2 separate regions of the Homo sapiens genome follow, and region 1 is linked to region 2. The links are contacts of gene promoters, found by promoter capture Hi-C in blood cells and fetal thymus (Javierre and others, 2016). All regions are on one chromosome and are shown on one strand. The core of a region is centred on a gene start or on the middle of the fragment in contact, and the rest is flanking DNA. Distances in the headings are between cores, read along the strand shown.

Evidence for each region. Contacts are between HindIII fragments. The CHiCAGO score rates a contact against its expected background, and 5 or more counts as called.
Region 1: a contact is called between the fragment with the promoter of TXNDC15 here and the fragment with the promoter of CDC25C in region 2, in 1 of 17 cell types (erythroblasts). The highest score is 5.7, in erythroblasts.

Annotation. Positions count from the first base shown.
Region 1 is chr5:134,869,441-134,876,260 of GRCh38, forward strand. TXNDC15 (thioredoxin domain containing 15) reads left to right here and starts at 4,931. Exons shown (of 5, transcript NM_024715.4): 1 at 4,931-5,090. The coding sequence starts at 4,988. It overlaps LOC124901071 (a long non-coding RNA gene), which reads right to left and starts at 5,958. Exons shown (of 2, transcript XR_007058943.1): 1 at 5,804-5,958; 2 at 5,391-5,692. RefSeq lists enhancers at 4,607-4,656, 4,677-4,966, 4,898-5,603, 5,497-5,566 and a silencer at 5,207-5,316. The HindIII fragment of the contact is 3,704 bases long and covers 4,051-6,820 here.
Region 2 is chr5:138,330,434-138,337,343 of GRCh38, forward strand. CDC25C (cell division cycle 25C) reads right to left here and starts at 1,371. Exons shown (of 14, transcript NM_001790.5): 1 at 1,162-1,371; 2 at 554-785. The coding sequence starts at 747. It overlaps LOC100128966 (a long non-coding RNA gene), which reads left to right and starts at 1,672. Exons shown (of 4, transcript NR_146628.1): 1 at 1,672-1,752; 2 at 3,000-3,095; 3 at 4,952-5,052; 4 at 6,441-6,713. RefSeq lists enhancers at 529-1,482, 1,194-1,323, 1,334-1,383 and a silencer at 1,434-1,693. The HindIII fragment of the contact is 22,786 bases long and covers 1-6,910 here.

The DNA.
Region 1 (6,820 bases), core at 3,681-6,180, 3.5 Mb before region 2:
TTTGTATTTTTAGTAGAGATGGGGTTTCACTGTGTTAGCCAGGCTGGTCTCAAACTCCTGACCTCGTGATCTGCCTGCCTCGGCCTCCCAAAGTGATGGGATTACAGGTGTGAGCCACTGCACTGGCTATCCTTTCCATCTGGAATTGCTTTGTCATGTTTACTGAAGATCAGTTGACTGTAGATGTGTAGGTGTATATCTGGGCTAACTTGTCTAATTTGGTGATCTGTCTGCTAATACCTATGCCGATACCACAGTCTTGATTACTGTAGTTTAATTAAAGTTTTGAAATCAGGTAATGTAAGTCTTCCTACTTTTTCAAAATCATTTTGGTTGTTTCATATAGATTTTAGGATCAGTTTGTCAATTTCTACAAATCTCTAGGATTTTTTTAGGAGTTGTATCTATAGATCAATTTGGACAGAATTGCCATCATAACAATATTGTCTTTCAATCCAGAACATAGTATGTCTCTCCACTGATTTTCATCTGTCTTGATTTCTTTCAGCCGTGTTTTTTATGTTTTAGTGTATAAAACTTGAACTTCTTTTGTTGAATTGAGTCTTAGATATTTTATTATTTTTGATGCTACTGTGAATAGAAGTTTTTTTTGATTTTTGGTAGCATATATAAATATAGTCTGTTTTCTGCATAGTGACCTTCTATCTGGCAACCTTCCAAAACTCACTTATTATCTCTGGTAGTTTTTGTTGTTGTTTTTGTTAATTTTTAAATTATTAAAAAAATTTTTTGGCCGGGTGCAGTGACTCATGCCTGTAATCCTAGCAGTTTGGGAGGCCAAGGCGGGTGGATCACCTGAGGTCGGGAGTTTGAGACCAGCCTGACCAATATGGAGAAACCCTGTCTCTACTAAAAATACAAAATTAGGCAGGCGTGCTGGCGCATGCCTGTAGTCCCAGCTACTCGGGAGGCTGAGGCAGGAGAATAGCTTGCACCCGGGAGGCAGAGGTTGCGGTGAGCCGAGGTTGCGCCATTGCACTCTAGCCTGGGCAACAAGAGTGAAACTCTGTCTCGAGGAAAAAGAAAAGAGAAAAAAAAATTGCCAGTACATAGTAGGTGTATATATTTATGGAATAAATGAGTTTCTTTTTGTTTTTGTTTTTTGAGACAGAGTCTTGCTCTGTTGCCGAGGCTGGTGTGCAGTGGCAGGATCTCGGCTTATTGCAACTTCCACCCAACCGGGATTCTTTTTTTTTTTTTTAAGAATCGGAGTCTCACTCTGTTGCCCAGCCTAGAGTGCAGTGGCCTGATCTTGGCTCACTACAACCTCTGCCTCCCGGGTTTAAGCAATTCTCCTGCTTCAGCCTCCCGTGTAGCAGGGACTACAGGCACATGCCGCCATGCCTGGCTAATTTCTATTGTATTTTAGTAGAGACGGGGTTTCATCGTGTTGCCCAGGCTGGTCTCGTGAGCTCAGGCAATTCACCAGCCTCAGCATCCCAAAGTGCTAGGATTGCAGGACTGAGTCACCGCACCCGGCCACCCCCCGGGTTTTAAGTGATTCTCCTGCCTCATCCTTCTGGGTAGCAGGGATTACAAGCATGGGCCACCATGCCCGGCTAATTATTGTATTTTTTAGTAGAGATGGGGTTTCACCATGTTGGTCAGGCTGGTCTCGAACTCCTGGCCTCAAGTGATCTGCTCACCTTGGCCTCCTAAACTGCTGGGATTACAGGGTTGAGCCACCGCGCCTGGCCCAGAGATGTTTGGATACAGGCATGCAATGTGAAATAAGCATATCAGGGAGATTGGAGTATCCATCCGCTCGAGAATTTATCCTTGATTTACAAGTAATCCAATTACATTCTCTTTTTTTTTTTTTTTTTTGAGATGGAATTTCGCTCTTGTTGCCCAGGCTGGAGTGCAATGGCGTGATCTCGGCTCACCACAACCTCCGCCTTTCGGTTTCAAGCGATTCTCCTGCCTCAGCCTCCTGAGTAGCTGGGATTACAGGCATGCAGCCACTATGCCCAGCTAATTTTGTATTTTTAGTAGAGACGGGGTTTTTCCATGTTGGTCAGGCTGGTCTTGAATTCCTGACCTCAGGTGATCAGTACGCCTCGGCCTCCCAAAGTGCTGGGATTACAGGCATGAGCCACTGCGCCCGGCCGACTAGTTTTAAAAAAATTTTGTTAGCAGTGTGAACTCATAGATGTTAACATATGCAGTGTATTTCAGTCTATTGAAATTTTTCATTTTTATGCTCAAATCATCCCATCTTTGGCAAGTAGGAGCCAGTTTGGTTCCTCAGTCATTCTAAATGACCGTAGTACCCTGGTATTCTTTTATTTATTTATTTACTTATATATTTAAGTTTTGCATTTTGATATAAGATGTCCCAGACTCACAGAAAGGCCTTTTGAGATAGCAAGACAAATTTGGCGGATTTAATTTCAGCCAAAGGAAGAGAATAATGTCAGCTTTTCTTTCCTCACCCCCAGAAATTTGATAGAAACCAGGACAATTGTGAAGGCAGTTTTCTCACTGAAAAGAAGTGCACGTTGGTGGTGAGACAGTTAAATAAGGATTCTAACCTGTGGACTACATTTGTTGTCATTAGAGGGGGTATATACAGTATTTATTCAAAGACGCTCAAGCCTGTAATCCCAGCCCTTTGGGAGGCCGAGGCGGGAGGACTGCTTGAGCCCAGGAGTTTGAAATCAAACTGGGTCAAACAGTGAGACCTCATCTCTAGAAAAAAATTTAAAAACGGGGTGGGAAGATCGCTTGAGCCCAAGGGGTTGTGGCTGCAATGAGCCATAACTGAGCAATTGCACCTGGGTGACAGCGAGACTGTGCCTAAAAAAAAAAAAAAATTGAAAGACAATTCTAACATCCAATTCTAACATCTAATTCTAACATCTGTAAGCGTATCTGTCCCAAACACAGAGCTAAAGTAAAAACACAGGAAGGGGCCGGGCGCAGTGGCTCATGCCTGTAATCCCAACACTTTGGGAGGCCAAGGCGGGTGGATCACCTGAGGTCAGGAGTTTGAGACCAGTCTGACCAACATGGTGAAACCCCATCTCTACTAAAAATATAAAATTAGTCGGGCGTGGTGGCGCATGCCTGTAATCCCAGCTACTTGGGAGGCTGAGATAGGAGAATTGCTTGAACCCGGGGAGGTGGAGATTGCAGTGAGCCAAGATCGCGCCATTGCACTCCAGCCTGGGCAACAAGAGCGAAACTCTTGTCTCAAAAAATAAAAAAATCAAACAAACACACATACAGGAAAGGAAAGGAGATAATAAAAAGGAAGGAGTAGTAACCACAGGGCATCCATGTTGGAGTATCCAGATCAGCTTCCTTTTCATTAGTCATAAATCCTTTTGGTGCTCTGTCCTGTTGGCTTTTCATGCACCTTCAAATCATGTATGGGGGTATGAGAAAGATAGTTTAAAAAGGAAAGGTTTGTTGTTCCACTGTTAGGGGTGAGGGAGGTACTTAGCGAAATGATGACTAGTAATAAGCTCTAGAACTGTGGGCTCTTTTATCCATGTCCATTGTTTCATATTCTTCTGGACCCACAAGATGGCACTTGAGGATCTACAACAGCAAAACCATACCAACGTATTTAGAATAAAAGAATCATCCACAGGGACAGATTAATGATGCATCTTTCTGGCCTAACAGTGTCTTTTTGATGGGCATAGAGATAAGGGGACTATGGCCACACCATCAGAATTGTATTATTCAATTAATAATGCCTACCACTTTGAAATGCTTCCTGTGCCCCAGGACACTGTGCTCATCACTTTACATCTCATTTCATCTATAAGACTCTATATAACGTCATTTCCACTTTACAGCTGAAGAAACTTAACTTTAAGTTACATAACCTGCTGACTGTGAACTATCACATGTGCTGAAGTTGGGATTCACCAAGCGGCCAAAAAGCACAGGTTCCCCTTACCATTGCTATGTTAACCAATAGACTGATGTATTTTAAATCAGTTTCTATTTTTTCAACCTCATAAGTTTGAAAAGCTGCACTCTGCACTGATTTAGCACTGACTGGTGGCTGCTTAAAGCTTGCCTTATTCCATTTTAGCAGGCCCCCCGGCAAAATACCCCAATTAGTGGTGTCATCCTCTCTATTCCAAGAATTTTCTCTTAAGACTCCCGCTCTGTGCGTTTGCTTGGGAATGCAGAGCCCTGTTCCTCATCTCCCCATCTATGCTTTCTTCATTCTAAGCCCTTTCCTATCTACTTTATGCTCGAGGTGGCTCCACCTCCACCATGAGCCAGAGCCAATGATGCTCACGGCCCCAACCATGATTAAAAAGAGATTGCCCTGCAAGGTAAATCAGTTAAAACCAACCTCTCCTGCCCTGAGTGGATAGGTAGGGTTAGGGTTGCCAGATGTCACGAAGTTACAGGATGCTCAGTTTTAAGGTATATCCCTTATACTATAAGGGTTATAGTAAAAAATATTCATTATGTGAAATTCAAATATAACTGGGTATCAGGTATTCTATGTGGCAACCCTAGGTAGGGGAGCACAGGTTAGGCAAGCGATTAGAAGATTTGCAGCCTCCAAAGTTTCTGCACCTCGATGGGACACTAGAACAGGAAGGCTCCTGGGCCTTTCTGGCTCTGGGAATGAAGCGTGGAAAACCCTCCTTAGGCGGGCGCAGTGCTTCAAGTAGCCAAGCTCTGACTTCCGAGGGAAGAAAGGAGGCCATGGGCCTCTGCCAGAGCCATGCTCTGCACTCTGGGGTCAGCAGAGTTCAAAACGACCTGCAACGTCTGGCGCTTAGCTCCTAAAGAGGTCTCCAGTCCAGCGCCGACGGCCAGCGGCTAGAGGCCGTCCGCCCGACTCCAAGATGGCGCCCGCCACAGCTGCCAGGTGTTAAGATGGCGGCGCGGGGCCGCGCCCGCGCTCCCAGGCTCTCCTCCCCCAGCCTTCCTCCGGCTGGCAGCACGACTCGCGTAGCCGTGCGCCGATTGCCTCTCGGCCTGGGCAATGGTCCCGGCTGCCGGTCGACGACCGCCCCGCGTCATGCGGCTCCTCGGCTGGTGGCAAGTATTGCTGTGGGTGCTGGGACTTCCCGTCCGCGGCGTGGAGGGTGAGTGTGGGCCGGGGGCGGTGCATGAGATGATGGGGCGAGCTGAGGTCCACCCGGGCGACGCTCTGGACCTGCGCGAAGGCCGGCGGTGCGCGACTCGCCCCTTCTTGGCGTCTCCCCGGGCGCGTCTCCCCGACTTCTCTCCCCGCGCACCGCCCGCTGGTGGCCCGCGAAAGGGGGCCGGTGGGCTGAGGGCCGGTGGACGGGAGCCCGGGGGTGGTTGGGCCGCGTTCAGGCCGCCCTCAGCCCGTGGCTGGTAGCCAGGAGGGACAGTGCGGTAAGCGCTGCTGAGGCATACCCTCTGGTGATAAGCAATTTATTATTAATAACATTATATCAAATACCGACATTGTTGTGGCCGTATTAGGAGCCAGGAACTGTGCATCGTGCTTTATTTACATCATTATCCCATTTAATGCTCCCACAAACCCTGTCAGATCGGTTCCGTTTAGTGTCTCCATTTCACAGATGAAGATGCTCAGGCCCCGCCTAAGTTTGCGCTTCTGATACGTGGCAGAAGCCTGTCTCTCTGACGCCAAAGCCCAGTCTGGAGTCCACGCTGCTGGACCACTGTCTTAAGGAGGCCAGTCTTGCTCAGCTCCCTGCATGAAAAACAGACGAGAAACACGGGAGACTCCCGGTAACCCCCAACTTGCCGGTAGGGAAGGCAGCCACTCTAGAGGCATGGCGAGGGTGGAGAGTGGAGGCCTTACTTTCATGCTCCTTCACCCCACTCCTCATAGTCCTGTTAAAGTCCAGACCCTCGGTCTCGCTTGTCATTTAGACCTTAACAGGAATAGGCAGGTCTTTCTTTTCCCTGGGGTGTCCTGGATGGAGGCAGGACAGCAGAGAGTTGTGGAGAAGGGTGAGTCATAGTAACACAATTACCATGAATGAAAGCGCTCACTGTGTACCAGATGCTGTGCTCAGTGCTTTACGAGCATCATCTTTTGGAATCTTTACTGTTTTGTTTTTGTTTTTTTAAGGGATGAGGGCTTGCTCTGTTGCCCAGGCGGGAGTGCAGTGGCCCATCATGGCTCCCTGCAGCCTTGAACTCCTGGGCTTAAGTGATCCTCCCACCTGTTTCCCAAAGTGCTGGGATTACAGATGTGAGCCACTGCTCCCGGTTTATGTAATTTTTATTTTTATTTTTTTTTGAGATGGAGTCTCGCTCTGTTGCCCAGGCTGGAGTGCAGTGGCGCGATCTTGGCTCACTGCAACCTCTGACTCCCGGGTTCAAGCGATTCTCGTGCCTCAGCCTCCTGAGTAGCTGGGATTACAGGTGCCTGCCACCACACTGGGCTAATTTTTGTATTTTTAGTAGAGATGATGGTCCACCATGTTGGCCACGCTGGTCTGGAACTCCTGACCTCAGGTGATCCACCCACCTCGGCCTCCCAGAGTGCTGGGATTACAGGCTTGAGCCACCGTGCCTGGCCTTAGTAATTTTTAAATGCATATGCAGTAGATGTTATCATGCTCATTTTATAGAAGTAACTTAAGACTCAGAGCCAATAAGTCCTTTGACAAGGTCATACAGCCAGAAGTTGAGGAGCCTTGATTCAAGCCCATGTCTGCCTGACTTCAGAGCCCAACCTCTGCATTTTCACTATACTTAACTGCTAGCCTCACAGAGGGGATGGCATGGGTTGGATATCTTCTGTTTCAGCCCCTCCACCGTGCTCTGTGCCCTGTGTGGCTGTCCTGTGTGGAATAAATACCAGCTGTCC
Region 2 (6,910 bases), core at 121-2,620:
AGACTTTTCCCAGTTATCACATCATTTGATTCTCACAAGATCCTAGTAAGATAGGAAGCGATTATTATTTCTTTGTCTTTTCTTTTCTTTTTGAGATAGAGTCTCACTCTGTTTCCCAGGCTGAAGTGCAGTGAGGCGATCTTGGCTAACTGCAGCCTCCACCTCCCGGGCTCAAGCAATCCTCCCACCTCAGCCTCCCGAGTTGCTGGGACTATAGGTGCACACCACCACACTCAGCTAACTTTTAATATTTTTTGTAGAGACGGCGTCTTGCCATGTTGCCCAGGCTGGTCTTGAACTCCTAGACTCAGGCGATCCGCCCTCCTTGGCCTCCCAAAGTGCGGAGATTACAGGCATGAGCCACCTCGCCTGGCTGAGATTATTTCTTGTCACAGAAAAGAAGGTGAGACTCAAAAGGGTTACACAGTCAAGGGCAGAGTTGAGACTTAAAGCCTGACCTTTGAGCCGGGATAATTGAAAACAAACCAACAAACAAACCCAACTGTTTGGAAATAGCAAAGGCAATACAGTGTAAAAATAAAAGTATATTTACCCAGACAAAATGCTTAGGTTTGCAGAATCACCAAGAAATTTGCCCACTGGAGTTCTAGGGACATCTGGACAGACGGTAAAGGAAGTGTCTCTCTCCAGGAGCAGGTTTAACATTTTCCTTTGATTAGACCTAAAACTGGGTCCTGAGCCAGAGCTTCCTTCCTCTCTTGTGGATGAGAAGAGTTCCGTAGACATGGTCTTCGAATTCTCACCAGGAGAAAAACAAAACCTAGCTAGGAGGAAAACGTCATCTAAATCGGTACATCACAGTTCCCTCAGCTTTCCTAAACTCCTCCACCCTTTCCAGCCAGGCGAATCAACACTGGAAGAGGGGCAACCCCGAAGGGTGATTCACAGCCTGGCTTAAGGTTAGAACCTGAATTCACCGACGAGAGGCAACCTTAGGACCTTAAAGATGGAATGAAGAGAGGATTTTGACTTGTTCCACGCCACACAGCTCGAGACTCCTGACTAGAAAGAACCCGGGTCTCGTAACTCGCGATAGTCCCCATTCGGCCCTCCCAACCTCTGTCTGTGGGGGCCCGACTGGACCCTAAGGGGGACAATGGGGTCTCCGTGATTCCGTGGCGGAGACGGCTGCGGACTTACCTCAAGCCTGGAGTCTGAGGCTTGCCTACAAGAGGAGAGAAAGTAGATAGGGATCGGACACAGGCGAAGACTTGAGCAGAATGAAAGGAAATCTAGGGGAAAGGAGGTAGTTAACTAGATTGCAGCTCTGCCTTCCGACTGGGTAGGCCAACGTCGGACTCAGAGTCTTCCCTGAGCAGAAGGCCAAAGTTACGGCCTCTGAGCAAGAATATCAACAGCCGCAGGCGTTGACCATTCAAACCTTCCGCCAGCCCAGTAACCTATCCCCGCTCGCCTCTAAGCTGCGTCAGCCAATCTCCGCGCGCGCGCCCAGGGCCTCATGGCCTATCGTTGGGCTCGCAGATCACCTGGGGGCGTGTGCTTGCTCTGGAAATGGTAAGACTTGCCCCGCCCCATAGCCAGAGCAGGATAGTGTTTGGCCCACCAGCGTTAGGCAGGCTGCGGGGTAAGCTCCGCCTCACGGGGAGCCTGGCGCATCATTGGCTCTCCCTCTCACCAATCTCCACACCCTTTCTGTTTTCCTCGTTCCCTCAGCCCCACGAACCCCGGGAGATTTAAACCGCGCCTTACTAGTGATGTCCATTCACTAGGGTAATACTAGGAGAGATTATTTTGGGTGGAGGGTGTTGTAAGCGTTTCATTTTCTTCGCTTCTTTCTCGTGCCGTTTTCGCGGACGTTTTCTTCTAAGTTTTGCTGGCCTTCCACGGGAGATGGAGCGTTTGCTGCCGGCGTGGCAAGTGTTGGGGCGAGACGGGTGTGTGTGTTTATGCTGAGAGGCATTAGCCCCTTCCAAGAGCTTTGTTTGGTGTTTCTTTTAGTGTGCAGCATCTCAGAGACTCTAGCTCACGTGGGTAAAAAGAAATTCCGTTGCAGGGAAAGTGGAGGAATTAAATCATCTTGGTATAATCCTTATCGCAATCCAGAGGACCTCAAAGATTGGTTATTAATGAAAATTTGAACATTGACGAGGTGATATTTATAAATTATTGGCCGGACGCGTTGGCCCACACCTGTAATCCCAGCACTTTGGGAGGCCGAGGCGGGCAGATTACATGAGGTCAGGGGTTCAAAACCAGCCTGGCCAACATGATGAAACCCCGTCTCTACTAAAAATACAAAATTTAGCCGGTTGTGGTGGCACACACCTGTAATCCCAGCTACTTGGGAGGCTGAGGCATGAGAACTGCTTGAACTCGGGAGACAGAGGTTGCGCCACTGCACTCCAGCCTGGGCATTAGAGTGAAACAAACAAAAAGACATTCCTAATGTTAGGGATTTGCTTTTAAATAATCCTGTGCTGGGGGAAGGTATTGATGATACAAGATTGACCCTGACTGTTGAGTGATGGGGGCAGGAGGGTCCATCATATCTGTGCTTCTCAAGGTTTAATTTGCACACTAACCACCTGAGGACCTGCTAAATGCAGATTCTGATTCGGGATGTCTGGGTTGCGGTTGCGGCCCAAGATTCTGCCCTTCTAACAAGCCCCCAGCTGATGGTGAGGTAGCTGGTCCTACGACCATACTTTGCGTGGTAAGGTATTACCCCATACTTCTTACTTCAATGTATATTTGAAAATTTCCATAATAAAAATGTTCAAAATAACCTTGGAAGCTCTTTAAGATGTAGGCTCCAAAAACGATAATTCGATAGGTCTAAAGTGGGGTCATTATCAAGGCCCCCAGGTGCTACCCATGCAGACGGCTTGCAGATCATGCTTTGAGAAACAAAAGTCAAAATGCAACTTGTGTCTGTTGTCAGGATCTTGGTGGTGGTAGTGGCTGAGAGGCACAGTGTAGCCAGCTGGTTTTTATCCTAATACCCTTTTCATCTGCAGAACCTGCTTCCCCAGAAAGGAGATGTGTGAAGATTCTTTGTCCTCTAGGATACAGACAGTGAGTGTAGGAGTTAGCACAGAACCTTGCTATGCCAGGTGAGTTTGAAAATCAGGCTGGGGATTAAGGGAGTGTGGGATGAGTTGTTATCTGCTTTGACGACTACAGTATAATCACACTTTGTGGGAAATTGTATACTTCCCTGCAGGTGGGAAGTAGAGACAAAGTTATTCTCTATTGGTGGCAAAAGCAGATAGATTATGGCAAGTGCACACCTGGCTACCAGTGCTTTCTGCACCAGGTCCTCAAGTAAGTGCAGTTGTGGGTGGTCACAACAAAGGTGTCAGCCAAGTGGCTTTAGTTCAATGTCAGGTGATGGAAATATACTAAAATCTGAGCACTCTGACAAAGTTGCAGCATTCCTAAAACAAATTCTCCAAAAATCTAGCCCCAAAAATAAGTTTCTGAGATTTCTCAAATGGAACTTATACACCTAGCTCTTAAGAGTATTTTTTTTTTTTTTAAGATGGAGTCTCGCTCTCTCCCGGGCTAGAGTACAGTGGCGCAATCTTGGCCCACTGCAACCTCTGCCTCCTGGGTTCAAGTTATTCTCCTGCCTCAGCCTCCCGAGTAGCTGGGACTACAGGTGCCCGCCACCACGCCTGGCTGATTTTTGTATTTTTAATAGAGGTGGGGTTTCACCATATTGTCCAGGCTGTTCTGGAACTCCTGACCTCAAATGATCCACCCACCTCGGCCTCCCAAAGTGCTGGGATTACAGGCATGAGCCACTGCGCCCGGCCGCCCTTAAGACTTTTTACAGATGCAGTGGTGCGCCTGTAGTCCCAGCTACTTGGGAGGATCACTTGAGCCCAGGAGTTTGAGGCCAGCCTGGGCAACATAGTGAGACTGTCTCCTAAAAACAACAACAAAAAAACTTTTTTTTTTTGAGACAGTTTCTTTCTTGTTGCCTAGGCTGGAGTGCAATGGCGCAATCTCAGCTCACTGCAACCTCTGTTCAAGTGATTCTCTTGCCTCAGCCTCCTGAGTAGCTGGGATTACAGGCATGCGCCACCACACCTGGCTAATTTTTGTATTTTTAGTTGAGACAGGGTTTCGCTGTGTTGGCCAGGCTGGTCTCAAACTCCTGACCTGAGGTAATCCACCCACCTCGGCCTCCCAAAGTGCTGGGATTACAGGTGTGAGCCACCATGCCCAGCCAACAAAACTCTTAAAAGCTCTACGTTTGTTAATGAGGTTGTTTTCCTAGCAAACATTTTCACTATCTCCTCATGATTCCAGCTGGCTTAGCTAATTGCAACATACTTAGCTAATTACATGTAAGTTTACATGCATACATACAAACTGTGAAATGGTAGAATTATTTTAAAGGGAAGTCAAATATTGTCTTTTATATCTTGATTTATGAGGGTGTTGGAATATATCTAAGTTATCCTTCCCAGAAGAAAGAATATTAGGGAGGTGGGAAGTTTGGTGTTTAATCTGATTTGAAGATTTACTTTTTCTGTTGGATTGAGGGCATTGATCCTATGTCATCCTTGGGGAATCCCTATCTAGGCTCCTGATTCACTGTGATAAGCAGTGAGCTGTGTTCCTTCACCTTGACCTCAGTCTGACTCATACATGTTGTTGCCAGGGCACAGTGACAGCCCGGGCTTCACCCTGAAACACCAAACAAGAACAGGAGGTACAGCCATCACTCCTGGGATGCCCAGATCAGGCAGTGGAGAAGAGCCCTGCATTCCTGGGATCCTCCCAGCCAGCCTCTGCAGGGCAGAGGGGCTGAGGGGTGTGTTTTCTATTCCTGGTTCTTTTTATGACTGGTAGGCTTAGCCCTACTTCTCCCCACTTTGCAGAGGTTTAGCTTTCACTGGGTGAAAAGGGAAGGTCTGAATCGAGTGCATGTTCCTCCAACTCGGCTGTTCCTTCCTAGGCAGGGAATGAAGAGTCTTAGAACCAATGGATTCCACTCCTTTGGATGACCTCCTGGATGACTGGCTCCAGGCCCTGGAGCCCTCAGAATATGGATGGAGAGTATCCTTTGCTGAAACCCACTGGAGCAGGGTCACAGATGGGGTTTGGCCCATGAGGGCATAATTAAGATGCAGTTCAAAGCAGTGGCTCAAGAACAAAAGACTAAAAAGGGGGCAGCAGGGAAAGAGCAGGACATGAGTAAAAAATCCTTGGGAACTAAAAGTGGAATAAGGAGATTTAATTATGGGTAGGAGTGTTGGGCTGCACTGGGAGGCCATTTTATAGATGACGAAAGGGGATGTAACCTTCCTTTGAAATGAGGCCTGAAACTTGACTTGCAGGGTTTTTTTTTTTGTTTTGTTTTTTTTGTTTTGTTTTGGGTCTCAGTTTCTTTCAATGTTTTGCAAATGAGCCAATGCCTACTTTTAACTCAACCATTTAATTCATAATAATTAAATTATTAATTTAATTAATAATAAAAAGGTGAACAGCTTAGTGGTGAAAAGCAAGGGCTTTTAGACTGCTTTTTGAGAGTACCTTTGCCTACCATGTGGGCAGTCACTTAACTTCTTGGGCTGTTTCATTTGTCAAAGAGAAGGTTTTGTTTCATTTGATGATTGTAAGAAAAAATGAGAATATATATCAAAGTATGTAGGTCAAGTGTGGTGGTTCACACCTGGAATCCCAGCACTTCGTTTTTTGTTCATTTGTTTTTTTTTTTTTTTGAGACAGAGTCTCATTCTGTTGCCCAGGCTGGAGTGCAGTGGCACAATCTCGGCTCACTGCAATCTCTGCCTCCCCGGTTCAAGCGATTCTCCTGCCTCAGCCTCCCGAGTAGCTGGGATTACAGATGGGCGCCACAATGCCCAGCTAATTTTTGTATTTTTTAGTAGAGACGGGGTTTCACTTTGTTGCCAGGCTGGTCTCGAACTCCTGACCTCAGGTGATCCGTCTGCCTCAGCCTCCCAAAGTGCTAGGATTACAGGTGTGAGACACCACGCCAATCCCAGCACTTTGTGAGGCCAAGATGGGAAGATTGTTTGAGGCCAGGAGTTTGAGACTACCCTGGGCAACATAGCAAGACGCCTCTCTCTACAAAAATAGAAATAAATATGCTGGGCATGGTGGCACACCCCTGTAGTTCTAGCTATTCAGGAGGCTGAGATGGAAAGGATTGCTTGAGCCCAGAAGTTCAAGGCTGCAGTGAGCTGTGATCGCCTCAGTGCACTCCAGCCTGAGCAACAGCAAGACCCTGTTTTTACAAAAAAAAAAAAATGTAGCATGGTGTCTGGTACATAAGAGCAATTATTGGAAACCATGTGTCCCCTACTTCATGGCCCCTAACTCTGCTCCTTTTGCCAAGGGGAAATAAGCAGTGCAAGGTAAATCTTTCCACCCCTATTTTCTCAGTTAGTACTGTACCTCATTTTTCCTCTACTCTTTTTCAGTTTGTAGACTTGGTGGCTCCTGCCTCCTCCCCTCCCTGGCTCAGTGAGGACGACCCCCGCCACTGGCTCTACTTTCCAGCTGATCACAGCTATTTACCTGTCCCAGTCTTGAGTAAGGCACAAAATATTTACAGAAAACAGATGTCTTTCAGAGGACTTGCTGCTAAGTGTAATAGTGAAGATTACTTGCATTACTGCTACTTTCCAATCAATTAAAAAAAAGAAATAGAAAACTTTGTATTACAAAGAGATCACAACACGAACGCATTGTTTAAAGCCTCTCCTTTATCCACTTTTTTGCTTGTCTCCCTAAACCATCTGTGATGCTAGCTGAGACTCGAATTTACATAAGAGCCAGAAACCATCAACCCAACCTCTTCACACACTAACGTCTACATTCAATCTCTTTAAAAAAGACTTAAATTTTGGCTCATGTGGGAGGTGGTGGTAGTGGTGGAGACTTAATAAAA